Linked DNA regions of Homo sapiens: all the other regions are linked to region 2. Evidence: promoter capture Hi-C in 16 types of primary human blood cells and fetal thymus (Javierre and others, 2016). All regions are on one chromosome and are shown on one strand. Each heading gives the region's core, a stretch centred on a gene start or on the middle of the fragment in contact. The rest is flanking DNA. Distances are from core to core; before and after follow the strand shown. Region 1 overlaps LOC124901949 (a long non-coding RNA gene). Region 2 holds the start of PLAG1 (PLAG1 zinc finger). Region 3 overlaps RB1CC1 (RB1 inducible coiled-coil 1). Region 4 overlaps RB1CC1 (RB1 inducible coiled-coil 1). Region 5 has its middle 60 kb from the start of PCMTD1-DT.

Region 1 (5,394 bases), core at 1,677-4,176, 4.3 Mb after region 2:
ACCTCCACTTGCCATCACTCTAACAACTCAAAATGCCCAGCATACACTTGCATGGAAGTGCTCAGCCTGAGAATGGCCAGTTCACACAGAATACCGTGCCTCCTGCCAATGATGGGTTCAGGAACTTACCCAGCAATTGGTGAGCTGCCCCTTGAAGGGGATTTCCCTGCCACATGGAATGATCCATGTGCTTCCCACAACCTCGGCACTGCACAGTAATCCTATCACTTTGATATTCTTTTTCCCATTTTACAGATTAAGAAACTGAAATACAGATGGAATCAATGGCATGGCCAGGTCATATGGTCAGTAACTAATGAAGCTGGAGGCTTAATATACTGCCAAATAAAATTATGGGAGTGACCTGAAGATCCAGATTGGATCCCAGGGCCAGAACTGGATGGTAATTTGATTGAATTTGTTAAAGTATCTAAAATGACTGTTATCACAAGTGGGGTTAGTCAGCCTTAAACCCTCAAAAAAGGAAGGTCTCAGAGATAAAAAGCAGTATTCTCTATTAAAACATGATTCATGGTTTAGATCTCAAGAACTTCAACCACAAAAAAAAACTTGTTTTAAACATGATTCATGGGAGTTTTTCATTCATCAAAATATTTGATACTTGGGCAAAGCCATTAGGCCAGGATTATAAATGCTGCAGAGGCCAAAGAGATAAATGGCGCTGTTCAGAGGGAGATAACAGGGTGTGGTTAGGGCTGATGAAGTAAGTGAGCGAATGAGCTGATTAAAGGTATTGGGATTAATGTTTTTCTCATCCCAAAAGTGAGATGGGTGACTCATGTTCTCTTAGCTTAAGGTCATTAAATATTCCATAGACATTATTCTTTGTCCAGGATAACAAAAAGCTAGTTGCACAAATTTAAAATATCCCTGTCTCTGGGACAATGATTTCTCATTGCAATTTGACCTTCTGCTTTTAAAAATCAGACTCATAAACTAGGTTAATGTAAGTCCATTCCTGAAAGATGAATTCACTCTTGATATACAGAGAAATCAGGTTTCTAAGCCTGATTTACTATACATACCAGCCTGTGAGCCCCCTTGGGAGACACAATATAGCCTTGCTTTGTGAACATAAAGCATACATCATTTCCTTGTGGACGACAAATATGTTTTTCTTATTTGTTATATGCTGATGATTTTTAAATTTGTCTGTGGAGGTCACAACTCTCATTAGTCAAAAATTTAAAAAGCTGTACCAGGCTTGCTGTAAAAATTAGATGATTTAAGGTAGTTTGTTAAACATTTTTTATTGCATTAAACTTTTAGGAAATTTTAAGAATAACTGTGAGAGATTCAATAGATACATAGGTAAAGGACACAAGCATGTTATCTACAATAGAGGAACTACAAATGTCTAGCACATAGTTGAAAAAAACATTTGGCCCCCACAATTATGCCAGCTATGTAGTATTTCTATCTCAAGCTCAGGCCACTCCCCCAAGCTCCAGATTCAAATGTCCAATCGCTCATGTGAGATCACTTAGAAGTCTACTGGCATCTCAATTCAACATGTCCAAAACAGAATCTTTGATTCACTCTCCTTTTTCCCACATACCTGGTCTCCTACCTCAATTAATTGCATTACTTTGTTCATCAGGCAAAATAAACAGGAATCATGCTTACTTTTTTCTCCTTCCCAGTTCTTCCATACAAAGTCTGTCATTGAGCTGGACCTGGTGAGGTCCTGGACTCTTGGGTGCTGCCTGGACCCACCCAAATGCCAGAATGGGAGTGACTTGATTAAGTTCCTCAGGGAGCTAGGTTAAGCAGATAACCTTTCTCTTGTTTCACACACACACAAAAATCTTGCCCTCCTAGAAATTCACCTCTCAAAACAATACCAGCCAAGTAGAAGAGGAAAAGAAGAGCAAGTGTCTAGAGGCCCTGATTTGCCTGGACACCCATCTGGGTGATTTGGGGTGGCCAACTTGAAAGAGCTTTTTTTTCCCCCAAGCCATTCTCTCCTGTTCTCAGCCAGCTTCCTGCAACCATGAGGTCAGAAACAAAAACAAGTATGTTTGTGCTTTTACATTTGTGATGGGCAAGGTACTCTAAAACGCAGGGTTCAGGGCAGGGGCCCCTTTCTTCTGAGTTCAAGAAAGCCACTGAGTCTTTTTTTTTTAGACAAGGTCTTGCTCTGTCACCCAGGCTAAAGTGAAGTGGCAGGAACATGGCTCACTGCAGCCAGTCTCATTCTCCTGGGCTCAAGCAATCCTCTCACCACAGCTCCCCAAGTTGCTGGGACTACAAGCACATGCCATAGTGGCCTGCTAACTTTTTTATTATTATTATTGTAGAGACAAGGTCTCACTTTGTTGCCCATGCTGATTTCAAATTCCTGGGCTCAAGCAATCCTCCCATCTCAGCTTCCCTAAGTGCTGGGATTACAGGCAAGATACACCACTGTACCTAGCTTTTATTCATTTTATTATTCATCTTTATTGCTTTCATTGCACATGCTGTTAACTTCTTATGAACTCTTTGTTCTAATAAATAAGCATATCCAGGTTTTTCATAAATAAATGAGGAGTCTATAAATTCTTACTAGTTTTAATAGAAACATTGCCACTAAAATGGTGTATTCTAGCTGTGTGAGCTTTTGGAAAATGTTTTCATTTCCTTTATGTTTGAATGTTCCTTCCAGGTCTTTGAAAATATACATTCTGAGTTGAAAAGCTTTATAATAGGTAAAACTCATTAACCCATATACTTTCCATGCTGGGCACAGCAGGTGTGGTAGGTAGAAATATAAGATGACTCCCAAGATTTTTGCACCCTGGCATACACATATGCTTTTCCAGTTGTTGAAACACTAATTTAGGTGCTGCTGTGAAGGGATTTTGTAGATGTGAATAATGTTCCAAATCAGTTGGCCTTAAGATAGAAAGATGATCCTGGATGGGCCAGATCTTATCAGTTGAGTCCTTAAAGGGAACAGCACCCTTCCTGACAAAGAGATTCAAAGCATGAAGGATTAAAAATGAGAGAGATTCTCTATTGCCAGCTCTGGAAATAGAGTAGGTCACGTGGTAAGTCGTTCAAGTGGCCTCTAGTTGCTGAGAGCAGCTCCCAGGTAAGAGCCAACAAGGAAATAATGACTACAAGGAGATGAATCTGGCCACACTATGTAAGCTTGGAAAGGAACTCTGAATGCCAGATGAGGATGCAACCAAGCCAACACCTTGAGTTTAGCCTTATGAGATCCTGAGTCGAGAATCCAGTGAGACGATGCCCAGATTTACCACAACCCTAGAGGCTAAAGACAATACCCCCTAATTATCTCACAATGCTGTATTGTCTTTAGTCTCTAAGGTTATTTAGTAATTTAGTAATAAAAAGCAAATCCAGTAGGACCATGCTAAATTAAGATACAACCTCTATATCATATGATGCAGTGTGAATCAGCACAGTAGAGATTGCAGTGTCTCTGGAAGCCATTTCTATACTGGACAATTCTTTGCAATAATTCAACTACACGTGCAAGTGATCAAATTAATATATCTTACAAAACTAAGTGTATCTTCAACAATACTCTTCCTTAACCAGTACCAAAAAAAAAGATCTGTGAATATTCTCTAACACCTCTCAACACAAGGGCAAGTGTCACAGATGGAAGTGAAGACTAAAGAGAGACAATAGAATTCACTGATTAAGGTTTAAATATCTTACTTTAGCAACTTTTTATTTGCAAAAATAGAAAACTGATCATGTGAACACATTTGCATTAAAAGATGTTTCTGCAAATTAGGGGCCCTGAAATTAAGCTTCATTAGGTTCATGGTAAGTCTACCTCTCTCTTTATCTATAGCACTTGGCAAAGGGCCTGGCATCTGAATGACAGGTCTCAAATGTTCTTTTTCATATGATTACATTAAATAAATCATTAAATTGTTATTTACTTAAATAACTTTAAAATTTTCTTGAGTGAATTAACACTACTTGAAGGATCCCTGTAAACTGAGTCCACTTTCAATTTCCTATCTACTGGGTCACTTATAACAAACCATGTTACACGTATACTTCCTCATCTCTGCTTGTTTCCAAGAAAGGAAAGGTAAGTAATTTAGTTTTTGTATTTCAATTAGTAATTCAATAACCTGTCTGTTTTTTGTTTTTTTAAAGCAAAATAGCTTATCTCAGAGTTCAGATCAGACAATCTCACCACTGGTGTTTGGATTCAGTGTCTTTTGAGGTAAAGTGAAAGAAGAACCTTTCAGAAATGCATGCAGTTAATTCAAGGAGAGGAAGAAGGATCTAGTTCTAAAGAGGTTTTTGTCTATAATTGATTTTTCTAAAGGAAAAATCAACAAAAAGTATAGTGTGTCAATGCTGAATACTCTGCTCTTTCAAACGGACACTTTCGTATTATAATTTGTATCAGATACAGTATCAAGAAAATTAAAATACCCATATACTAAGAGCAAAAAATGTTCTTCAGTAAGTCTGGTAATGAAAACTTCAAGATAAGATTTCAAAATTACATAAGGCTGCAGTTCTTCTAATAAAGATTACTAAACTGTAGTATCAGAAAAGGTACTTTTGGGGAATCAAATGATAGTGAAGCTTCCCTCCTGGTTTGTACCTTAAACTTGCTTGGCTAATGGCAGTACTTTCACCACCCCCATTTAGTGTAACTTTTGTTAAACTTAACTTAAAATGCAAAATGATGCATAATATACAATGTTATTCATAATGATAATAGCTGCTGTAGTATTTGGATATAAGAGTTTTCACAGGCAGGAAAACATTCAGTTTCTAAAAAATGATTCAAAGTTCATGAAAAAGTATAAATAAACGGTTTACTCTGTTGTTCACGTAAATCCCTAAGGACGTGGAATGGAAACAAACAGCAAGTATTCTTAAAAAAAAAAAAATCCTTTTTAGGATCTACTTTGTCATTGTATTCTAGCCTTAAAACAATTGCTTTGCATATAACTTTTTTTAAAACTGAAAAAATATGCTTGATCTTCCTTTTCTGACTACACAATTATTTTTTTCTTTTTTTAATCAAAAACTCACTGCTTGCTAATGACCATACAATTATTGTTGTTGTTGTTGTTTAGAGACAGGGTCTCACTCTGTCACCCCAGCTACAATGCAGTGACACAATCATAGCTCACTGTAGCCTCAAACCCCTGGGCTCAAGTGATCCTTCCAAGTAGCTAAGGCTGCATGCCACCATGCCTGGCTAATTTATTTTTATTTTTTTTATAGATGGGGTCTTGCTATGTTGCTCAGGCTGGTCTGGGATTCCTGGCCTCCAGCAGTCCTCCTGTGTAGCTGGGATTACAGACTTGAGCCACAGCACTGGCCTAAAATAATTATTTGTCAGTTCCTTATTTAAAATATTCTTAGCAGGCCGGGCACAGT
Region 2 (4,814 bases), core at 121-2,620:
AACTCTATTAAGAAAATGGCATCACTTTTTTTTCCACCCAAAAAAACCCCGCAAAGATCATTAAAAGAGAGTTATAAAATAGCAAATATAGTGTTTATCTTATCTGAGATCAGTCCACATTACCAATAAGTTTAGCAGTTTCTGCACTACCACCTCCCCCCTCGCTCCCCCTGCTTCTCTTGCATCGGATTTTCACGTTTTCTCATTGTCGGTTGAGTTATAAAAGGCTTTTGCCCTTCGAAAGTTTTAAAAAATAAATAAATATTAACTCCTTGGTCCCTGCAAAGTCAAAATGGACTTCAGGGGAAAGGCGGTACATACTTTTACCTTTAGCGAGAAAAGGGGGAGCATCCCGGATTTTTAGGGATTTTTTGCGATTTTTTAAAAATTTTTATTTGGTTATATGCCTGAGTTCTCCCTCCATTTTGGTTGTTTATGATACTGACAACAAGCTGTCCCTGCTCTGTGCCGATCTCCTGCTTTCATTTAGCACCCCCTCCCCCTACCCCCCCTCGCAGCCACACACCCCGGGCTCACACCTCCCTGCAGACCCCGCACCCCGACCCCGGCTTGCCCACCTGAGGAAAGGGCAAAAACAAATTCATTTCTCCAGAAAAGAAAAACCTCTTTTGAAAAAGGGGCAAAGTTACCCCAAGTCACTCAAAGTGCCCCCCAAATATTGCCGACTGCGGGTTTCCGCCAGGCCCTTTGGGAAGCGACCTTCCCCCGGGATGTTTTGGTGGAAAATGCGGAGAGTTTACTCTCAAAACTGAATTTATATTAATTTTTCCCTTATTTTTCGGGTCTCTAATGTCTTCCGCTCTCGCTGCTGCCGCTGCCGCTGTCACAATATTCACAGCACCAGAGAGGAGGAGGAGGAGGAGGAGGAGGAAAACTTTTCAAACTTTCCAGACCCTGAATAAAGGTTTTTTTTTTTTTCCCACCGACCTCACCTTCGGGTCCCCAGCCGCATCGCCCCCTGCCCTGTCAGAAGCGACTTCGGGAGTCCTCGCAGCCCCGCGTAATTATTTTATTTTATTTTTTATTATTATTTTTCTCTCTGGGGTCCTGAGCAGGGGCTGAGAGTAGCACAAACTTTTCCTCCTCCTGCCGCCGCCGCTGCTCCTCTGCCCCCTCGGCTAGTCCCATAATTTAAATAACCCTGATATTTCTCCCGCTAAACGCCTCGCCGCCGCCCCGGACCCCCGGAGAACTCACCGCGGGGCTTTAACATCCTCCCTCCGGCCCGTCCGCCGCCTCTACACCGCCCGCGGAATTTCTAATAATTTTTTTCTCATATTTCGGGCTGGACGCGGCGGGCCTGGAAATTGTTTCCTTACGCCTCTTTCCAGCAGCCATTGTAGTGTATGCGCTGCCCCTGCAGCCCAACTTGCAGCTGCCGCCGCCGCCGCCGCCGCCGCCGCCGACGTCGCGCCCACCGCTGCCTCCCCCTGCCTGTTCGGCCACCGCCCCCGCCTCCCGTCGGCCCGCCCCCAAACCCCGCCCGCCGCTGCGCCCGCCCCCCGCGCGCGCTCCGCCCGAGAGCTGGCCACTCGGAGCCGCCGCTGGCGGGAGTTGGCCCGCCCATTGGGCCGCGACGCCGCCCGTCAAGCCGAAGTGTTAAGAGACGGGCCGCGGCTGGGGGGCGCGGTGGGGCGGGGGAAGAGGGGGCGGGGTCGCGCTCACCGCCCCGCCCACTCCTCCCGCCTCGGCCCTCCTTTCGCCAGGCGGGGGCGGGGCGAGGCCCGACCGCCCCTGCGGCCCAGGGCCCCGCGCGGCTGTCAGTCTGGCGGCGGCGCGCGCCGATTGGGCGGGCTGCCGCCGGGGAGCGGGGGCAGCAAGTTGGGATGCGCGCTACTTAAGGTCCTGCTGCGTGAGCCATTGACGTGTTTGGAGCTGGAGACGGCCTGGGTGCTGGCGAAGCGGAGGCCGGAGGTGAGTGGTTCCCCCGCCCTACCTCCGAAGCGGCCGCAGAAAAGCGGGGAGAGAGGGGTGCCCTTGGGCCGTAGCGGGGCCCGAATGCACTTCTGCGGCGCGGAGGCGCTCCCGCCAGGCTTCGCCGCAGCGCGGACCTCTTCCCGTTGCTCTTCCTCCCGCCACACGGGTCTGTTCGCTCCGGGGGCGAGGAAGATGACCTCTGCCTAGTCCGGGCAACCCCAGCTCTTCTTCCACTCTCCTGTGTAGCCTCTGAAGCGCAGTTACCGGCCCCACCCCCAGTTCCCTGCGTTTTCCTCGCCCCTTGTCTCTCTCGGCATGGTCTCGGCACAGCAAGGTGTGTTCACCTGTGCGCGCCGTCCAGGATCAGATGCTGACGGGCTACACCGCGGAAGGCGGCGAGGCCTCGGGTTCGCCCTTCGTTTCTCCTTGCCCTGCGCGCCCACCTCCGGCAGGCCACCCTTGACTTCTTGCCCCCTTCCACTTTGCACCTGGCAGTGGGTTAACGGCACGGCGTGTGCAGCTTCCGGGTTTAGCAGAGCCGCGGACCCTGCCTGGGCTCCGACCACGGGGCGTGTGGGCATGAACGTGTTCAGAAACGTTTCCTTCCCCCTGCCCTTTCAAAGCTACTTAGAGAGGGGGGACGTGAACCACTGGATGGGAAATCAGGAACTGCTTTATTAAGCAGTTTGCCCTTTGGAGTGGATTTTAGAGTTATCCCCTGAATGTGCTATGGTTTTGTGGCCCCTCCTTCATATCTTTGCTTGGTTTTTCTTTCTGGTTATGCTCTGCAAGTAGTAGAGCCTTGTAACATTTATTTAGTACATTCAAAAAGTAATAGACAAGGCCCCTTTAGCGGAGCACTCGATGTTGTAATTCAGCCCCGCTCCTCACTGTAAATTGACATTTCCTCTTCAATTCCAGTTAATACACGAGGAACTCATGCAAAGGAGGGGACTTTCGGAAATCCAAACTTAGAGTGCCTTGTATTTAGAATCCGGAAGGAAAAGGAAATGAAATGTGAAGAAACTCATGCACCAAACTCGAACTGGGTATATGTGATGTTACCTAGGTATTATTTTTGAAGAATTTCTGACTGACAATAAAATATAGAGTAGGATACTTTCATGTAAGGCACGAAACTTAAATTTAATGCAAGGTTGTCTGATCCTTGTTGAGATTATTAAATCTAAGGTGTATGAAGAGTTCTGTGTTCTCACATCATAGGATAGGTGTAAAAAAGAAAGCTGTGAATTTATTTACTATCATCATCTCTCTTAGGAAGAAGGGAAGTGTGGAAAAAAATTGTCTTCAGGAGAGGAAGAAGCTTGTAGATATAATTGAACAGCATCTTGATTTCTTTTTTGCCAAGATGTTACTGTTGGCTGGTTATTTTCTTGTATTGTTCAATGAAAATCATAAAATTATTATTCAGTGATTACTTAATGGACACCAGAATAACCAAACCCTTTTCCATTCTTTTTTTTGCAAAGGCTGGTCTCCTTTGGCCTGGACGTCCTGATCTTTCCCATAGTAGAACTGGGCTGGGTGTCTCTTTTTTTTTTTTTTGAGACGGCGTCTTCCACTGCTGTCGCTTGGGCTGGAGTGCAGTGGCGCGATCTCGGCTCACTGCAACCTCTGCTTCCCAAGTTCAGGCGATTCTCTTGCCTCAGCCTCCTGAGTAGTTGGGATTACAGGCGCGTGCCACCACGCTCAGCTAATTTTTGTATTTTTAGTAGACAGGGGGTTTCACCATGTTGGCCAGGCTGGTCTTGAACTCCTGACCTCGTGATCCGCCCGACTCGGCCTCCTAAACTTTTGCAAAGCTGTATCTCTAGGAATTGAATTGGAAGATTACTGAAGCACAGTAGCATTCCCTGACTTCCTGCAACGCAGGGAAATAGTTAAAAAGAAGATGCCACTGGAAGTAAAATTTCAACTCTTTTGTTTTTGAAACAGTATAGCTTTTCATAATGTCAACTAAGCAATAACTTGGCTTTTTGGTGTGTTGGCTACCCTACTATTGGCCATAAAATAGGCACTCTGGTACTTCAGTTGATGAATGTTTTTGCTAAAGTTGGACTGTACCGAATTTCATTCTTATTTTGTACGCTAATTGGTGTAAAATAAGGAAGTAATTGTTGGAATGCATACTGTATTCTTAGGTTTTATTAGTACATTTGGTTGCTTAAACTTAAGAATAAGAGTAAACAACAACTGAATTATAATTGAACTATCTTTCTTTTTCGTTTTTTTGAGACAGGGTCTCTCTCTGTCACCCAGGCTGGAGTGCACTGGTGCAATCACAGCTCTCTGCAGCCTTGACTTCCTGGGCTATCCCACCTTACTTAGCCTTCCAAGTAGCTGGGACCACAGGCACACGGCACGACACCAGGCTAATTTTTGTATTTTTGGTAGAAATGGGGTTTCTCTGTGTCGCCTAGGTTGATCTCGAACTGCTGAGCTTAAGCAGCCCTCTCGCTCCAGCCTCCCAAAGTGCTGGGATTACAGGCGTGAGACACCGCACCCAGCCAGTAGATGCATTTCAATCCAATATATGGCCTTTGTGTTGAGGCATGGCAATACAAAGGAAAAACACGTTCAAGTTTTTATTCACAAAGTACAGAGAATACATGAAGTTCCTCACTAAGTGATCATTATGCCAAAATCAAAATTTCAGGTACTTTTAGTGCTATTGAGATGTATTGATTTATTTTCTGTCAACTACTGTATAATTATTTTTTTTCTGTCTACCCTCAGTAAGAAGACTGTTAGAATGCCCTCGGTAACACAGAGGCTGAGAGATCCTGACATAAATCCTTGTTTGTCGGTAGGATGGTTTGCTTTAATTTTCATGAGTGTTAAGTTGGAAAAACAGG
Region 3 (5,561 bases), core at 1,648-4,147, 3.6 Mb before region 2:
ATGTATCTTTTCCACTTTAAAAAATTAAAAAAAATAGTACAAAACAGTACAAACCTTTATCCCGTTCTTGTTGCTGCATTGTACTTTTCAACTTATCACTAAGATCATTTATTATGTTTTCTTTTCTCATTTTCTCTCTTGTTAAAACAGTGTTAAAATTGGTCTGGAACAAGAGAATAATTATTTAAATTTATCTACATGTACTTAGCAGCTAGGACTTAGAAAATACACTTGCAAATATTCTTTTCTGTGGCACATTTGTACATGGAGATGATGGGGTATGATTCATGAAATGTTTTAAAAATGAAAATGTAACATACTGTGGCAAAGGTTCTACTTTCTTGGTTCCAATTTAAGTCTCTTGAAAGCAAATCCTATTTTCTTATTATTGTCCATATATTTACTGTCAGAGATTTTGAAATTTTGAAGAATTAGAAGCATCAATAACTTAGAGTGCTGTTAGACACTTACTTTTTTCCTGGAGTAATCATCCTGCCTCTGAAACCTTCCTTTTGTCTTTAGCATTTGATCACCACCCTAACATTTTAGATATGACTCTATCTTCCTTATTTCTCTTATTTGGATATCTGCAATGGTCACTGGAATGCTGATTTATATTGGCTAGACTTATTACTCCCCCACTTTTATAAACTCTACTATGAAGCTCACATATCCAACTGCCTGCATGGATCTCATGAGACAATCTGGCAATTTTAACTGCACAGTTTCTTTAATAAAGATGACTGAATCTGTATAAAAATTTTGCTTAGGCCGGACTTGGTGGCTCATGCCTGTAATCTCAGCACTTTGGGAGACTGAGGTGGGAGGACTGCTTGAGCCCAGGAGTTTGAGACCAGCCTGAGCAACACAAGATCGAGTCTCTACAAAAATTATCTGGGTGTGGTGGCACATGCCTGTAGTCCCAGCCATTCGGGAGGCTAAGGAGGGAGGACTGCTTGAGCCCAGGAGTTCCAGGTTATAGCATGCCATGATTGCACCACTGAATTCCAGCCTGAATGACAGAGTAAGACCCTGTCTCTAAGAGGCAAAAAAAAAAAAAAAAAAAAAAATTTACTTACAAGATTTTTGAGCTTCTTGAAATGTAAAAGCAATAGATGAATGATGAAATGATCTAAACTGACTCTTCTCATCTGCCCAGCATTTCTAATTCCAAAATTTTAAGAGCTCTACGGTCCTTGGATCAATGAATAATGCTAACAATGCTGGCAATAGGGAGATTTAGGAAAAGTAATACAGCATTTTTAATAAAATTTTAATAAATTCATTAAATATTTAATTAAATACAATTTCTGGCCACAAAGCATACAGGAAGATCTCTCAAAAAGAAACATTTATGATATGGCTTTGTATTAAGCCATCTCTATGTATTTTATTTATATATAGAAAATAAACACAAAAACATATAAACCATTATGTTTATTTTCATGATTTTTGCCATTTCTGTAATTTGAAATGAATTTTTAGGAAGATCACAATTTGTAATTGGCATATGAAAAAAGGGGGCTAGTTAAGAACCAATTAGTTCCAACTCAGAAATCACCTATACAGAGCTAGGTACAAATAACCTTAAATAAATACAACTTAACATACACATCATGGAAAATTGGAAGGTACCTTAGAAGTCATTTCTCCCACTCTTATTTTATAAATATTAAAAGAGACATCAAAACATGAAGAAGTAAATTAGACAGCTGTCAATACTATACTTTTGGTTTCAGTTAATTCATTCTTTACTTAATTTTAGAAATTGTACATGTGCTTATAAGAGAACACACAAAGAGACAATGCAACACAAGGAGATAAAGAGATCAATATGCAGAATGAATCATAGAGAAGAATCTATAAATCCAGATTCTTAGAGAGAGGTTACTACTGACCTCCTCATTGTTAATTCTTACTTAAAACTTGGCTATTCCTCCTCCCTGAACACTTAACTTTCCTTGGCTTCCCTTAAGCCACACACTTTTTTTTCTGGTTGTGCTTTTCTCATTCCCTTTTCCCAGGCTCTTCTTTCTTTCCCTAGGCCTTAAAAATCTAAAATTGTTAGAGGTTTCAACTATACTTTATTTTCTTTCTGTTCTCTGATTTACATTTTTTCAAATTCCACAAAGACACTAATTAATCATAACATTTTAGGAAAAGGAAAAATACCACATAATATTACATGTGTACAATAACCATAAATATGCAGTTTCAGAAATGTATCCCTCAAAATGTATACCCCAAACTGCAATATTATCCCTGGCCTGAATTCTAGCAGTAGCTACCAAATTGCTCTTCCAGCTGACTGCTTTGCAGTTCTCCAATCTTTCTCCATGTTCCAGTGGGTGATCTTCATTAAGCATAAATCTAATTATGCCATTGTAATTAGTTGCTGTCCGGTACTTTAGGTAAAGTACAAGCTCTCTAACAAGGCATCTGGTTTTTTATCTAACCCCAATATACTTCACAAGCACTACCTCTTACTATTGACCAACAACAGTAAGTACATTAACAAAATTCAATAATATTCCATCTTAATCTACCACCAGCCTATCAGAAGGATAAGAATTACAGAAAGGGTAAGATATTTATGTTGATCTGAATGTAATTTAGGATAACAAAGTTTAGAGAATTTGAAGCTTAGAGAAAAAATAAAATCATTTTTTAAATTAAAAACATCATTTCATAGAAAACTAATCTTAGTTCTCAAGAGGTTAAATGATCTACCCAAGATCACATAGGTAGCGAAGAAACCAGGAACAGAATTTACATTCCCTCGCTTCTAATCTAAGACTATCTCATTTTGAAGCACCTGGTATTGTCATGTGACATGTTAACATGAAAAATATTATTCTCCAGATGAGTAAAAAAACTAAAAAAAATTCTTAAAAATACACGCTTTTGTCAAGAGGAAATTTATTAACAGGATCAATGTAAGGAACATCACATCTAAGATATAAGAAACCCTCAGCTACATAAAGAAATTATATTTGTTAATTTATGTCTACCTTCTTTAGTTCTCAAATGAAATGGGAAAAGAGATACAGACCTGTTGTTCCGCAATCAAAGATGTTCGAACATTTTGCATTTCTTCATTCTTTCTTTTTTCTTGCTCTTCAAGTTGTTCTAGAAACTTAGCTTTTTCTTCCTGAAGCTTTTCTTGAAGTTCAGCAACTAAGCTTGAAGAATCTCCTCTGGTAGAGTCAATGGCAGGACTTACAAATTAAATACAGCATTAAATTAAAAAAAAAATTACAGACACACAAATATACCAAATATCATATTTGGGAAATTTATCTTCCTTAAGCTCAATAATGTAGCATGAAAGATATCTGTGTGAACCCTCTCTTTGAATCTAAAAAGTAAAGGGAAATAAGTAAAAGTTTAATACAGATTAGATGCTGACACTAACAAGGTTTACTGATTTTTATCAGTATAGCAGATAAATTCCAGATAATTTGCTTATATCAACATACATAAAAATCAAGAGGCTGCTCTGCCCATGGAGTAGCCATTCTTTTATTCTTTGGCCGAGCTCTGTGGCTCACACCTGTAATCCTAGCACTTTGGGAGGCCCAGGCGGGAGGATCACTTGAGTCCAAGAGTTTGAGATCAGCCTGGCAACAAAGTGAGACCCCGTCTCTTAAACAAACAAACAAACAAACAACAAAAAAAAACAACAGCCAAGCACAGTGGTGCATGCTGAGGTAGGAGAACTGCTTGAGCCCAGAAGTTCAAATCCTGCCTGGGCAACATAAGGAAAAAGTATTTTCTGGTAAGGGACTATACACATAAGAGATAGGTAAACTCAACTTCAAATGTCAGTTTTGCTATTCCTATACATGAAATTTACACAATGACTTAGGAAAAAAGAAACACCTAAAGATTGCATATGTTGAAATGCTTTAATTTCCATAAAATAGTCTTTGGTTCATTTCTGCTAGCAAGTAGGTAACACAAAGCTAAAACTGAAAAGCGCTTACACGAACAAATCTACATATTCCTGAACTCATACTCATTTTCCTCAAGACTTACTAACCTCTTAGGGGTTGCTGACAAAGTGCTAGAGATGAGAATAGGACAATGTAAGAAGAAATGAACAAACACTGGTTAATGATTAGTTTAACTTCTAATTAATAACTCATTAACTTCTAATTATAACTTCTAAGTATTAATCTTATCTACTTTCAACTTAATCCTTAGCATTAAAAAAAGGTTTCTCCAAGAAGCAGATGAAAAATCCCATTAGTATTAAAACATGCTAAGCCTCAAAAAGTTGCTGTTACTAAAAACCACTTTACCAGGTCAATTTTTAGGCTTAAATGTCCCTCTTTGTTTTTAAATGATATTTTAATGTTTTTGAAATCAGGGTGTGTTCTGCAATTAATATGGGCATGTATTTAAAATGTTCACTCTACATGTTTCTTATGTAATTTCCTCATCTAATTATATGACAAGAATACACTATATCAATAATCATACAAAAAATTATTGGAATCCTTTTATTCATGCTTCCAAATTTCCTGATAAAAATCTAATAACTTAAACTTGCTGCTCAGATAACCTTTCCTCCAAAGGGATAGCTTTATACAGCCAAATGCAGAATATGCAGTTTGAAACATAATATCTCTATCAAAGTCTGAGACTCCTTACTTAGTTCCCAGAAAGGCTGGAATAGGAATCCCCTATTTCATAATATAGTTAATTAAAGGAAGGAATATATATTCCATAATATAATTAATTAAGGCGAAGGATTTACTTTTAAAGTTTCTCCTTTGGGGCTGAAGAAGAGGGGGATGTGCAAGTTTAAACTACTCCATGGCTGGAAAACTGACATACTACATAAATCAAAGGCTTACTAAGGAACACAAAGAGACTTACAAAGAGACTCAGACTACTAATAATGAAGTGCTTGGGATAAAAATAGGTATAGGCAGGGTTTACAAAGAATCCTGCTTGGCCGATTTCTTCCTTGAAGAAATCTCCACAGTTCTAAGGTAAGCTGAAACTTTTAGGAATAAAAAATAAGGCCAGGTTTTAAGGAGGAAATCAAGAGAGCACTGAGGTTGGAGATGTGAAGGACAGATAGTGAACAGTAAAGGTTATGAATTTTATTGCAAGTACCATATAAAGTCATTGAAAGGTTTGGTCTAGAGAATGATATCGTGTGAATCTAGGCTTTGAAAAGACTATTGTGAGAAAGGATATTAGTAAGAAATGTGGCACAGTAAAGAAGCCTGAAGGAGAGCTTTCAACATGATAAAGGATCCTAGAATTGTACTAGAAAAAGTGTGGTTCAAATTGTGCAAGAGAGGAAGGGGAGGCCATGCACAGGCAGTACTTATAATTTCTAGGTGTCCTGCATCTTTGGATTGCTTGGGGTACTCCATTTCAGGGTCAGTGCTGTGCTGAGATAATACAGGGACAAGAGGACACAGTTCCAGGTACACAAACAGATATAGACACCCCTGACACTCTCTGTAAACACCATATCCCCAAAACCAGAATAAGAACACTAGATGATTAGCATAGGGTATCTCATTTACTGACTCAAAGTA
Region 4 (5,465 bases), core at 2,908-5,407, 3.5 Mb before region 2:
GTGTGTTAGTGCCAAAAAGTAATAAAAAGCACATTACCTGCCTTCCAAAAAGTTCAATAATACTAATATGAAGAGAGGTATGCAAAAGTTAGACTGAGAAAGAATGGACAAGAATTCACACAAAGGTGACATTAAAAAAAAAAAAAAAAAAACACAAAAGTATATGTAAAATCAAGTTCCAACTAGAAACTGACAGTTTACCCTCACTGATCACATTACTAAAACTTAAGAGGATAAACTTAATAAACCAATGATTTCTTTTAAGAAAACAATCATTAAAAGGAGCTAATTCTTTTATTAACTTGCAACTTTGGGAATGCTTATTATGTACATGTACCCCTAATTTACGTAAAGTCCATTAAATCCTGTAAGTGGGTTGACTCTCTATGATCTAGAACTAAAGTTATTGCATGTAATTGTTAAGTAAGGTACAAGCACAGAAATCAACTGCTATTCAAGGAATTATAAAGTAACTTTATAAGCCTTATATAAATAAGCCTAGTACATAAGTATTACTTTTCACCAAATAGTCACGATTTCCTAAAATCTGACTTGATGCTCATTTTATATAAAGTCCTTCTTAACTTTTATAAAATGAAACCATATTTAATACTATACAAGTTAACACAAGCCAATTCTAAATTAAAAGTAACAGGTTAGTAACTCAACAACTGACACAAGATTTTCTTAAATTATTTGACCCTCTGCTTAAACAGTCTTTAGTTTCTACCCACTAAGAATTACTATAAACTGCCTACCATATATACTGAGACTTCGTAGGACAGAACAACTGTCAAAACATGTCAAACATACTCATAACTCACACGGTAGTTAACAAGTTAGTAGGAATCATGATGCATTAATAAACATAATGCATGAAACTGAACAGATCCAAATTGATCTTTATACATGCATACCTGCACTTGTGTATCTATACAATAATGGTGGGATTTCAAATTGGGGAGAAAGGATCAACTTTTCATGCAATGGTATTATGACAAATGGCTATCCATAGCATGAAGAAAAATAAACTATCTGGAGGTACATATTCACTAATGAGAACTAAAACATCAACAAGGTACTACTTTTTACCCTTCAGATTACTACTAATGATTAAAATGAGTGCTAAGTGTTGACAAGATTAACAGTGGGTCCACTGGCACATTTCTGACAAAAATATAAACTGGTATAACTTTTAAGGGAATTTAATCTGGCACTATGTATCAAAATTTAAAATGTACAAACCAGCAATTCTACTTCTGGGAGCAAAGAATGAAACAAGTGTACAAAGGTATATATATGCAATGATTTTCATTATACCATCACTTTTTAAAATGATGAATTTAAAAACTATCAATGGAGGTTGGTTAAATAAATTATGCCTATAGTCCTAGCTACTCAGAAGGTTGAGGCAGGAGGATATGGCTTGCTTGAGCCTGGGAGCTGGAGGCTACAGTGAGCTATGATGGCATCACTACACTCCAGGCTGGGTGACCCAGCAAGATCCTCTCTCCAAAAAAATAATAAATTATTACACAACCCTATAAGGTATCAAATTTTAGACATTTAAAAATGTTTTGATCTATACGTATTGATCAGTACAAAAAGCAATTTACAGTATATATTATGTGATTCTGTTTGTGGATTTTATTTTTACAACTAATGCAGGAGGACATATGTATATGCAAGCACTTAAAAAGTCTGGATCAATTTAATAGCAATCTTTTTAACACTGGCTATCTCTGGATGCCAGACTTTTACTTTCTCCCAGTTCTTTTAAAAATCACATTTATAATTAGAGGGGAAAAACACATATCCATTAAAAAAAAAAGATGACACCCTATACATTACAAAGAAATAAAGAACCTGAATTTGTTGCACCAAAAGAGTTAGTCCCACCAAGAGAGCAAGACAAAGATTCCCACCAGCCTTCCCTATTTCAGTCCCAATCTGAGGTCCTAGGGGAGTTCTGCCCCACTCCCATTCTAAATATAGCCTTCCCTAAATGGTCATTCATGTTTAGTCTTCCAACTGTTATCTTTTTTTTTTTTTTTGAGATGGACTTTCACTCAGTCACCTAGGGGCTGGGTGCAGTGGTGCGATCTCCGCTCACTGCAGCCTTCAGCTCGTTGTAGCCTCCGCCTCCCAGGTTCAAGAGATTCTCCTTTGGGAGGCCGAGGCAGGCGGATCATGAGGTCAGGAGATTGAGACCATCCTGGCTAACACAGTGAAACCCCGTCTCTACTAAAAATACAAAAAATTAGCCGGGCGTGGTGGCAGGCACCTGTAGTCCCAGCTACTCGGGAGGCTGAGGCAGGAGAATGGCGTGAACCCAGGAGGCGGAGCTTGCAGTAAGCCGAGATCTCGCCACTGCACTCTAGCCTGGGCTACAGAACGAGACTCCCTCTGTTTCAAAAAAAAAAAAAAAAGAGAGAGAGAGATTCTCTCTCCTCAGCCTCCAGAGTAGCTGGGATTATAGGCACCCACCACCACACCCAGCTAATTTTTTTTGTATTTTTAGTAGAGACAGGGTTTCGCCATGCTGGCCAGGCTGGTCTCAAACTCCTGACCCCAAGTGATCTGTCTGCCTCAGCCTCCCAAAGTTCTGGGAATACAGGCATGAGTCACCACGCCCCAATTGTTATCTTTATGTAAACATAAGAGGGAGAACAGAACTGTGAAAAGAACATGAGATTTGGAATCAAAAGAAGTATATTCAAGTCCTGGCCCAATGTGACCTGAACTGACTTCACCTAACAAGTTTTTTCATTTGATTACAAAAAGTAAAAGTACCTGTCTCACAGGGTTGTGGTCAGGATCTAACGAATAATCTATACATATATGGAAGTTATGTAAACCATAAAGTGAAATACAAACATCAATTACTGTTATTAACTAATCCAGATCTCTGTTCTGAGTTTAGAGCTAGCAGTAACTGATGCTTCATATTTCCAGCTGGAAATCCTACTGTTACCTCAAACTCAACATGTCCAAATTTAAATTCGGTGCTTTTCCTTTAAATCTATTCCCTAATTTATTCACTGTCAATGAACTATCATTCTACTATTGCCCCAAACTTCAGTTATTTTTCTTTTCTTTTTCTTTCTTTCTTTTTTTTTTTTTTTTTTTACAAACTTTCCAAAGTGACAATGGACCAGGCTTCAGTTATTTCTGTCCAAGTCCTACCCATTTTTTTCCTTTCTAATCCAACCCCTCATTTTCCAATGACATAACCCTTACTTAGGAAACTGCAACCTCTTCTCTCTGTCTTTAAATCTCTATCCGGCTTCAATCCTTCCTAAATACTCCCTACCAGTTACAACCAAGGTAGTCAGGCTGCTTCCCTCAAGTATCTTCCCTAGCACCTTACTGTTGCCTACAGCAGGGCACAAATCTGTAGTTTCTTTACAGCTACACTCTCTTTGTCACCTCCGGTTCAGTACTCAGACAGTTTCACTTAATTGTACTATCTGCCCACCCCTCTTAGCATGTGAATTTGCCAACTTGATATAGGCTAGATTAACATAAAAATGGCAGACTTAGGAACAAAATTTACTTGTATTTGAATACCATCTATCTCACTGAGGCTCAGGTAACCTCCACATATCAGTTGACAATCTATAAATTGCAACGATACCTTTCACAGAGATGAGAAGGATAGCAATAATGTACTTCAGAGTCCTTTACGGTGCTAGGAATATACTAAAAGCTTTAAAAATGGTGGCAATTATGACTTTAATTAAACTCCAGCACTCAAGAACTTCATAATTAACCCCAGTTTATTTTTGTAGCAGTATCATCAACTACTCCCTTACATGACAAACCTATACCCTCACTTTACATACTCCTGCCAGGTAAAATACCCCCATCTTTGCTGATCTGAATTTTACTCATCTTTAAAAGTCAAAGTATTGCCGGGCACACTGGCTCACGCCTGTAATCCCAGCACTTTGGGAGGCTGAGGCGGGTGGATCACAAGGTAAGGAGATCGAGACCATCCTGGCTAACACAGTGAAACCCCGTCTCTGCTAAAAATACAAAAAAATTAGCCGGGCATGGTGGCGGATGCCTGTAGTCCCAGCTGCTTGGGAGGCTGAGGTGGGAGAATGGCGTGAACCCAGGAGGCGGAGCTTGCAGTAAGTTGAGATCACACCACTGCACTCCAGCCTGGGCAACAGAGCGAGACTCGTCTCAAAAACAAACAAACAAACAAACAAACAAAAGTCCAAGTATTGTCCTATTACCACTTCTGGGAAGTCTTCCCTTATCACAGGTGGCCTATAGTATTCTTTCTCCTTTCTCTGAATTTACAGAACTCTTAAGTAGTTAATATAAGGTAGCAGGAATTCTCTTATCTGGGGGGAAAAACCTATCTCTCATTATGAGGACATCTGGTCCTCCTAAATCCTCCTAGGATACAGTCAGCTATAAATGAAGGGGAGAAGAGAGCTGTATTTTAAAAAATATTGATCCGACAGGGTGGTGGACATTATCTCCATTGATGCGGTAGTAGCCCGTGACCCCTCAATGAGGGAGAATTGCTAATAACTGCAGTTTACAGAACTAGGGATCAGGCAAAATTATTTCTAATCATCTTTTCTCTCTGAAGCTTTTAGTCCACTTTATATGCCACCCAGCACTTTGGGAGGCAGAGGCGGACAGATCACCTGAGGTCGCGAGTTTGAGACCAGCCTGACCAACATGGATAAACCCCATTTCTACTAAAAACACAAAATTATCTGAGTGTGGTAGCACATGCCTGTAATCCCAGCTACTCAGGAGGCTGAGGCAGGAGACTCGCTTGAACCCGGGAGTCAGAGGTTGCGGTCAGCTGAGATCATGCCATTGCACTCCAGCCTGGGCAACAAGAGTGAAACTCCATCTCAAAAAAATAAATAAAAATAAAAATATATTGATCCCACTGCATTTGTTTCCAGATGTACAGGAATAACAACTGAACCCATATATATCCATATTTGAGGAAAAGAACCAGAAAGTATCTCACATACTCATTAAAATCTATCCAACTTATCAAGTGGAGATTTACAATTTTCTCGAGAGATTATCATGATGATAAAGTCAATTATCCCAGCCTTACTGTCAACTATTCTAATACAGTCAAAACTTAGAATTAGGCCAGACACAGTGGCTCCTGCCTGTAATCCCAGCACTTTGGGAGGCCGAGGTGGGTGGCTCACTTCAGGCCAGGAGTTCAAGACCAGCCTGGGAAACATGGTGAAACCCCGTCTCTACTAAGAATACAAGAATTAGTTGGCAGTGGTAGTGCATGCCTGTAATCCCACCTACTGGGAGGCTGAAGTGGGAGGATCATCTGAGCCCACGAGGCAGTGGTTGTAGTGAGCCTAGATCACACCATTGCCTGTCGCCTGCCTGGGCGACAAAGTAAGACTCTGCCTTAAAAAACAAAAACAAACAAACAAAACAGAATTCGCTTCCTTATATGA
Region 5 (5,548 bases), core at 534-3,033, 4.3 Mb before region 2:
CTTAATTTACCAGAAACAAGGCTTAAATAATTGAAGTAATTTTCCCAAGATCGTTCAGCTAGTAAAAGTTGCAAAGCTATGATCCAAAGCAAAGTTTGTACAAATCTGTATCCCAACTATTCTCTGTACTTCTCTATTCTAAAATGTAATCTCTACTTCGAGTGATTTAATATTCTGTGACTATTAGAGATTTGATTGATAAGGATTATGACCATATAGAATTTAGAACTTTTGAAATAAAGATTACAGAGTAGCAAATATTATTCTGGCATTAATTTTCTTTCTTTCTTTCTTTTTTTTTTGAGATGGAGTTTTGCTCTGTCCCCCAGGCTGGAGTGCAATGGTGTGATCTCGCCTCTCTGCAATCTCGGCCTCCCGGGTTCAAGCGATTCTCTTTCCTCAGCCTCCCAAGCAGCTGGGATTACAGGTGCGCACCACCACACCTGGCTAATTTTTTTTTTTTTTGTATTTTTAGTAGAGATGGGGTTTCACCATGTTGGTCAGGCTGGTCTTGAACTCCTGACCCCAGGTGATCCACCTGCTTTAGCCTCCCAAAGTGCTGGTATTACAGTCATGAGCCACCACGCCTGGCCTTAGTTTTCTTTTTTTTTTTTTTGAGACGGAGTCTCGCTCTGTCACCCAGGCCAGACTGCGGACTGCAGTGGCGCAATCTCGGCTCACTGCAAGCTCCGCTTCCCGGGTTCACGCCATTCTCCTGCCTCAGCCTCCCGAGTAGCTGGGACTACAGGCGCCTGCCACTGCGCCCGGCTAATTTTTTGTATTTTTAGTAGAGACGGGGTTTCACCTTGTTAGCCAGGATGGTCTCAATCTCCTGACCTCATGATCCACCCGCCTCAGCCTCCCAAAGTGCTGGGATTACAGGCGTGAGCCACCGCGCCCGGCAACTTAGTTTTCTTTTTCCAGGCTTTGGCAATTAATTTTCACAAAGTCCTTGAGAAATTATAATTTTCTGGAAACAAAATAGAAACACTGTAAATACATTTAATATAGTAACACTTGATAATTCTGCTGGAAAACAAAAACACTCCTAAATGTGAAAAACAAGCTGTGGAGTGCAGCTATAAATTCCTTCATATCAGATTCTAGTACCAGATGCTGTGAGAAAAGATTTAAGAGTGTGTGTGTGTGTGTGTGTGTGTGTGTGTGTGTGTGTGTGTGATGTTACTTGGAGAAAGATCAAATTAAAATGGAGAATGGAGGAGGTCTTTTTATAGTCTCCTCATTTGCACTCCAAGTTAGGAAATGGCTGTATAAAGAGATGATCTCCAAGAACCTTTATAGGACTGATGTGGCTTGACCAAGACAAATACAAATAAAGAGTGGACAGTGGAGTCATGGCTTAGGGTGTGACAGCAGCCTCTAGTACTTGAAGAATTATACTTTGATGAGAGATTAAGGTTTTGTATCACCGGGAGGAACAATCCTGATGAATGGGTTGTGAAGGGGTCAGTCCACCAAGGTGGTTAAGCCTGAACCTGGAGTCCAGCAGCTCAAACTCACATGCCAGCTCACTCCTCAGTAGTTATGGGAGGTTGGACATGGTAGTCAATTTCTTTCAGCTTCATTTCTTCATCTTTGTTCTAAGGAAACTCATACTAACCTCATAGGGTTATTGTAAAAAAAAAATGAGATAACATTTGTAGCGTGCTCGGTCCATTGCCTGGTGCTCCGTAAAAACACTGTAAGTGGTAGTAATAACAACACAGTCATTGGGAGTCAGACTGTGGCTGAAGATAAGTTAGAACTTCCTAAAAGAAGGAGGTAACTTATTCTGGAAGTGCTAAAATTTAACTGGGATTGTCTCCAGTTAAGGAAATTAGAGAGACAATTTAAGATTGCAGATGGGCTTGCTGCATTCCCCTGACCCCTATCTCCTTTGTCTCTCAGCTGGTGGCTTGCTCATGCTGAGTCACCTCTGCATTTTCAGAACAGATGACGGAACATGAAGTGATATGGGTGTTAGCTTCTCACCTGGCCACCGTGAGGCCAGATGACAAAATCCGCAAGTGTAGGAGTTAGTCCTCTAACTCCTACATTGTTCAAAGGAGTGACCTTTGAACAATGAGAAATGGAACATAGAAGTGATGGGGGACAGGTGATCCCCCCAGATTGGGGCTTAGCCTGGGAGGGTTCTTAGCTTCACCCAGGAAGAAATTCAAGGACAAACCAGTGGTGTTAGACGGTACCTTTTATTGAAGCAACAGTGTACAGCAGTAGCAGAGGGACTGCTCCTTGCAGAGCAGGGCTCCCCCATAGGTAATGTGCCCAGAGTAACAGCTCAGAGGCAGTTCTGCAGGCATATTTACACCTACTTTTAATTGTATGCAAACCAAGGGAAGAATTATGCAGAAATTTCTAGAAAAAGGGTGGTAATTTCTGGGTCATCAGGTCTTTGCCAGGGAAAGGGGCAGTAACTTCTGAGTGCCATGGCAATGGTAAACTGACATGGCACACCAGTGGGTGTGTCTTAAGAAGAAGTGCCTTCACCTTTTCCCTTTTTTGGCTAGTTCTCAATCTGTTCTTGTGTCTGAACCCTGCCTCCAAAGTCAAGTCCCACTTCCTACCTCAGAAGGAGCTGGGCAAATACACCTCTCCCTCCTTTCATTCTGCTGTGGACTGCTCCAGAGTCCTGCATGAGGATAGGCTGGTTGAAAGGCTGTCTGTAATTTGCAGATGACTGTGGCGTATTGTAACACACAGTGTATTGTCTCATGTTCCTTTGCTTCACTTTGTCTTTTCCTCACCTCACCATTCTGGCTGTGCACCTCTCAGATAAACATTCAAAGCTGAAGCCTTGAGTCTGGCTCATCTTCGAAAAATAAAATAAAATAAAATAAATTTAAAAGGCCAGGCATGGTGGCTGGTGCCGTAATCCTAGCATTTTGGGAGGCCGAGGCAGGTGGATCACTTGAGGTCAGTAGTTCAAAACCAGCCTTGCCAACATGGTGAAACCCCGTCTCTACTAAAAATACAAAAAATTAGCTGGGCGTGGTGGTGCATGCCTGTAATTCCAGCTACTTGGGAGGCTGAGGCAGGAGAATCACTTGAACCTGGGAGGCAGAGGTTGCAGTGAGCTGAGATCACGCTACTGCACTCCAGCCTGGGAGACAGACTGAGACTCCATTTCAAAAATAAATAAAATAAAATAAAAAAATAAAAGATCTGGACTAACACAGGTGTTTCTTGAAATCTAAGATTTGCTTTCACTGTAAAGCTAACCTTTGAATTTTATCTCATTAGACAGGATGCCACACAGAAAATCAACTGATTTACCTAGGATTTCTCTACCTCTTTGAACTAAGTGAATCATGTTTTCATGATATTAGGCATTAACATAATACCTTTGGGGCCAAGTGGCCTCTTCTTTCATACAAAGTGTGATACTGCTATAGGGAACATTAATCTTATGCAGGCCAGGGTGCTGATTATTCTTGAAAAAATAGTATCTGGTGATTTTTGCCTTTTCTGCTACTTTGTTTTACCCTAGTACACTGTGACACCTCCCACTTGTAGTCAGGAAATAGTAAATGATGTGCTGCCTGTGTTGAAGATGTGACTGGAGTCACCATTTTATAGATTTGAAGCTTCAAGGGTTAGGGGCTAAAATCATAGTTTTTGTTTGTTTGTTTGTTTTTGTAGTTAGGAATAACTGAGAGCTGAGAGTACAGTTGTTTGTGCATTTTCTATAATATGTGCCCTTTGTGACTTAATGTTTATTGATCTGTTACTCACTAGACTCTGTGACAGGTGCTGGAGTTAAAACGATAAACTGGATAAACATGGTCCCTACCTCTGTGTAACTTACAGTGTGGTGGAGGAGATGGTGAAAAATACAATGACATAAACAAAATGAATAAAATAAAAATGGTGACACATGCAATGAAGAAAAAAACGAGATCAGGGCACTGGGAAAGAGAAACAGAGGGAAACCTGCTGTGGAGGATAGTCAGGGAAGTCCTGTCTTAGATGGCAACATATAAACCCAGCCCTGCCAGAAGCAAAGAAGCTGGCAGTATGCAGAGTGGCCATGGAGTGCTGAAGGGGACCAAGGAACCCATCTAGGGCAGGAAAGAGGCCATCCAGGTGGGCATTGGCATTGCGTTCTGTGAGCTGGGGTTTTTTTTGTCTTTTTTCTTTTTTTTTTTTTTTTGTGAGATGGAGTCTTGCTCTGTCGCCCAGGCTGGAGTGCAATGGCGCAATCTCAGCTCATTGCAACCTTCGCTTCCCAGGTTCAAGGGATTCTTCTGCTTCAGCCTCCTGAGTAGCTGGGATTACAGGCATGTGCTACCATGCCAGGCTAATTTTTGTATTTTTAGTAGAGACGGGGTTTCACCATGTTGGCCAGGCTGGTCTGGAACTCCTGACCTCAGGTGATCCACCCGCCTCAGCTTCCCAAAGTGTTGGTATTATAGATGTGAGCCACCACGCCCAGCTGAGCTGGGGTTTCAATTTATGTACAACCAGAAGCTGCTTGAGGATTTGAAGGAGGGAATTAACACATGCTTTAGTTTAGGTACTATGAATTTTACTCTGGTTTCTGTGTGAAAACTGATTTGAGTAAGGGGGAGACCAGTTAGTAAGTTGTTGACATTATTACAAACCCTATAATGAGAAGTGACCTACACCAGTGAATGGGAGAGAGAGTGGTAGATGATTCCAGATATGTTTTAAGGGGAAAATCGACAGGATTTACTGATTGGTTGGATATAATGGGTAACAAAAGATAGGGATCAAGATAGATCACTAGACTTTGACCTGAGATATTAGGAGGATGGTGGGAAAGATTGGGGAAGAAGGGTATGCTTAGAGGGGAAAAAAATCATTCCAATTTGAATGTTTACAGAGATATCTAAATAAAAAAGTCAAGCAAGCAGTCAAACATGTAAGTCTGGACTTCAGAGGAGTGTTCTGGGCTAAAATGATAAATTTACGAGGCATCTGACATAGTTGATATTTAAGACATAAGATAAGAAGAAACCACCTATGAGGAATGTGTAGAGAGAAAAGAGCACCAAGGGTCTAATCCTGAAGAAAGCTGGCAAAGAAGATTAAGGGGGATCAACCAGGTAGGAGGAAATAACCAGAGAGGGTAGAGCCCAGGAGCTGAGGGAGAGAGTGTTGCTGGAGTGGGGCTGGGCAGCTGTGTTGGATGCTACTGAAAGGTTGCCCAAGATAAAGGCAGAGAAGTTCCCTGCACAGAGTGACAGGGAAGCCAATGAGCTTGGCAAGGCTGGGTGGTGTGATCAAGGCTGGAACGAGACTGGATTTCCTCAGAGGAAAGGTGAGCCAAGGAGGCCAAGTCAGCGTATGTGTAGACAGAAGACATTTCGGTGGTGCCTGGACAAAGGATCAAGAGATGGTTTCCACACTGGCAAGGAGTAATCTTGGAGACAGGAAGAGACTGGTGATTCAAGAGAGAGTAGACAGAAGAAGGCGCTGTCTGGGGGAGACAGGTAGAGAGATGTACCAAACTACAGATAATGAGATTGTCCCTGGGTATTAGGAGTGTGTTAGTTTTGCTGGGGCT

What was found. The method cuts DNA at HindIII sites, captures the fragments that hold promoters and counts their contacts. A CHiCAGO score of 5 or more calls a contact.
Region 1: a contact is called between a fragment that was not itself captured here and the fragment with the promoter of PLAG1 in region 2, in 2 of 17 cell types (non-activated CD4 T cells and neutrophils). The highest score is 6.2, in non-activated CD4 T cells.
Region 3: a contact is called between a fragment that was not itself captured here and the fragment with the promoter of PLAG1 in region 2, in 1 of 17 cell types (naive CD8 T cells). The highest score is 5.4, in naive CD8 T cells.
Region 4: a fragment that was not itself captured here is called in contact with the fragment with the promoter of PLAG1 in region 2 in 4 of 17 cell types (non-activated CD4 T cells, total CD4 T cells, activated CD4 T cells and 1 more); the score reaches 10.0 in non-activated CD4 T cells.
Region 5: a contact is called between a fragment that was not itself captured here and the fragment with the promoter of PLAG1 in region 2, in 1 of 17 cell types (naive CD8 T cells). The highest score is 7.8, in naive CD8 T cells.

What each region holds. Positions count from the first base shown.
Region 1 is chr8:60,502,550-60,507,943 of GRCh38, forward strand. All of the region lies in intron 1 of LOC124901949 (a long non-coding RNA gene), which reads left to right. Among named protein-coding and RNA genes, the nearest start is that of RAB2A, 12 kb to the right of the region's middle. The HindIII fragment of the contact is 456 bases long and covers 2,699-3,154 here.
Region 2 is chr8:56,209,903-56,214,716 of GRCh38, forward strand. PLAG1 (PLAG1 zinc finger) reads right to left here and starts at 1,371. Exons shown (of 5, transcript NM_002655.3): 1 at 1,219-1,371. CHCHD7 (coiled-coil-helix-coiled-coil-helix domain containing 7) reads left to right here and starts at 1,887. Exons shown (of 4, transcript NM_001011671.3): 1 at 1,887-1,935; 2 at 4,696-4,765. The coding sequence starts at 4,712. RefSeq lists silencers at 1,356-1,915, 1,758-1,983 and enhancers at 1,996-2,065, 3,636-4,135. The HindIII fragment of the contact is 9,849 bases long and covers 1-3,260 here.
Region 3 is chr8:52,642,650-52,648,210 of GRCh38, forward strand. It overlaps RB1CC1 (RB1 inducible coiled-coil 1), which reads right to left. Exons shown (of 24, transcript NM_014781.5): 16 at 3,053-3,218; 17 at 55-163. Among named protein-coding and RNA genes, the nearest start is that of RB1CC1, 69 kb to the right of the region's middle. The HindIII fragment of the contact is 515 bases long and covers 2,641-3,155 here.
Region 4 is chr8:52,704,323-52,709,787 of GRCh38, forward strand. All of the region lies in intron 1 of RB1CC1 (RB1 inducible coiled-coil 1), which reads right to left. Among named protein-coding and RNA genes, the nearest start is that of RB1CC1, 7.4 kb to the right of the region's middle. RefSeq lists silencers at 3,319-3,368, 3,379-3,538. The HindIII fragment of the contact is 900 bases long and covers 3,708-4,607 here.
Region 5 is chr8:51,956,097-51,961,644 of GRCh38, forward strand. No RefSeq gene overlaps it. Among named protein-coding and RNA genes, the nearest start is that of PCMTD1-DT, 60 kb to the left of the region's middle. The HindIII fragment of the contact is 3,639 bases long and covers 1-3,603 here.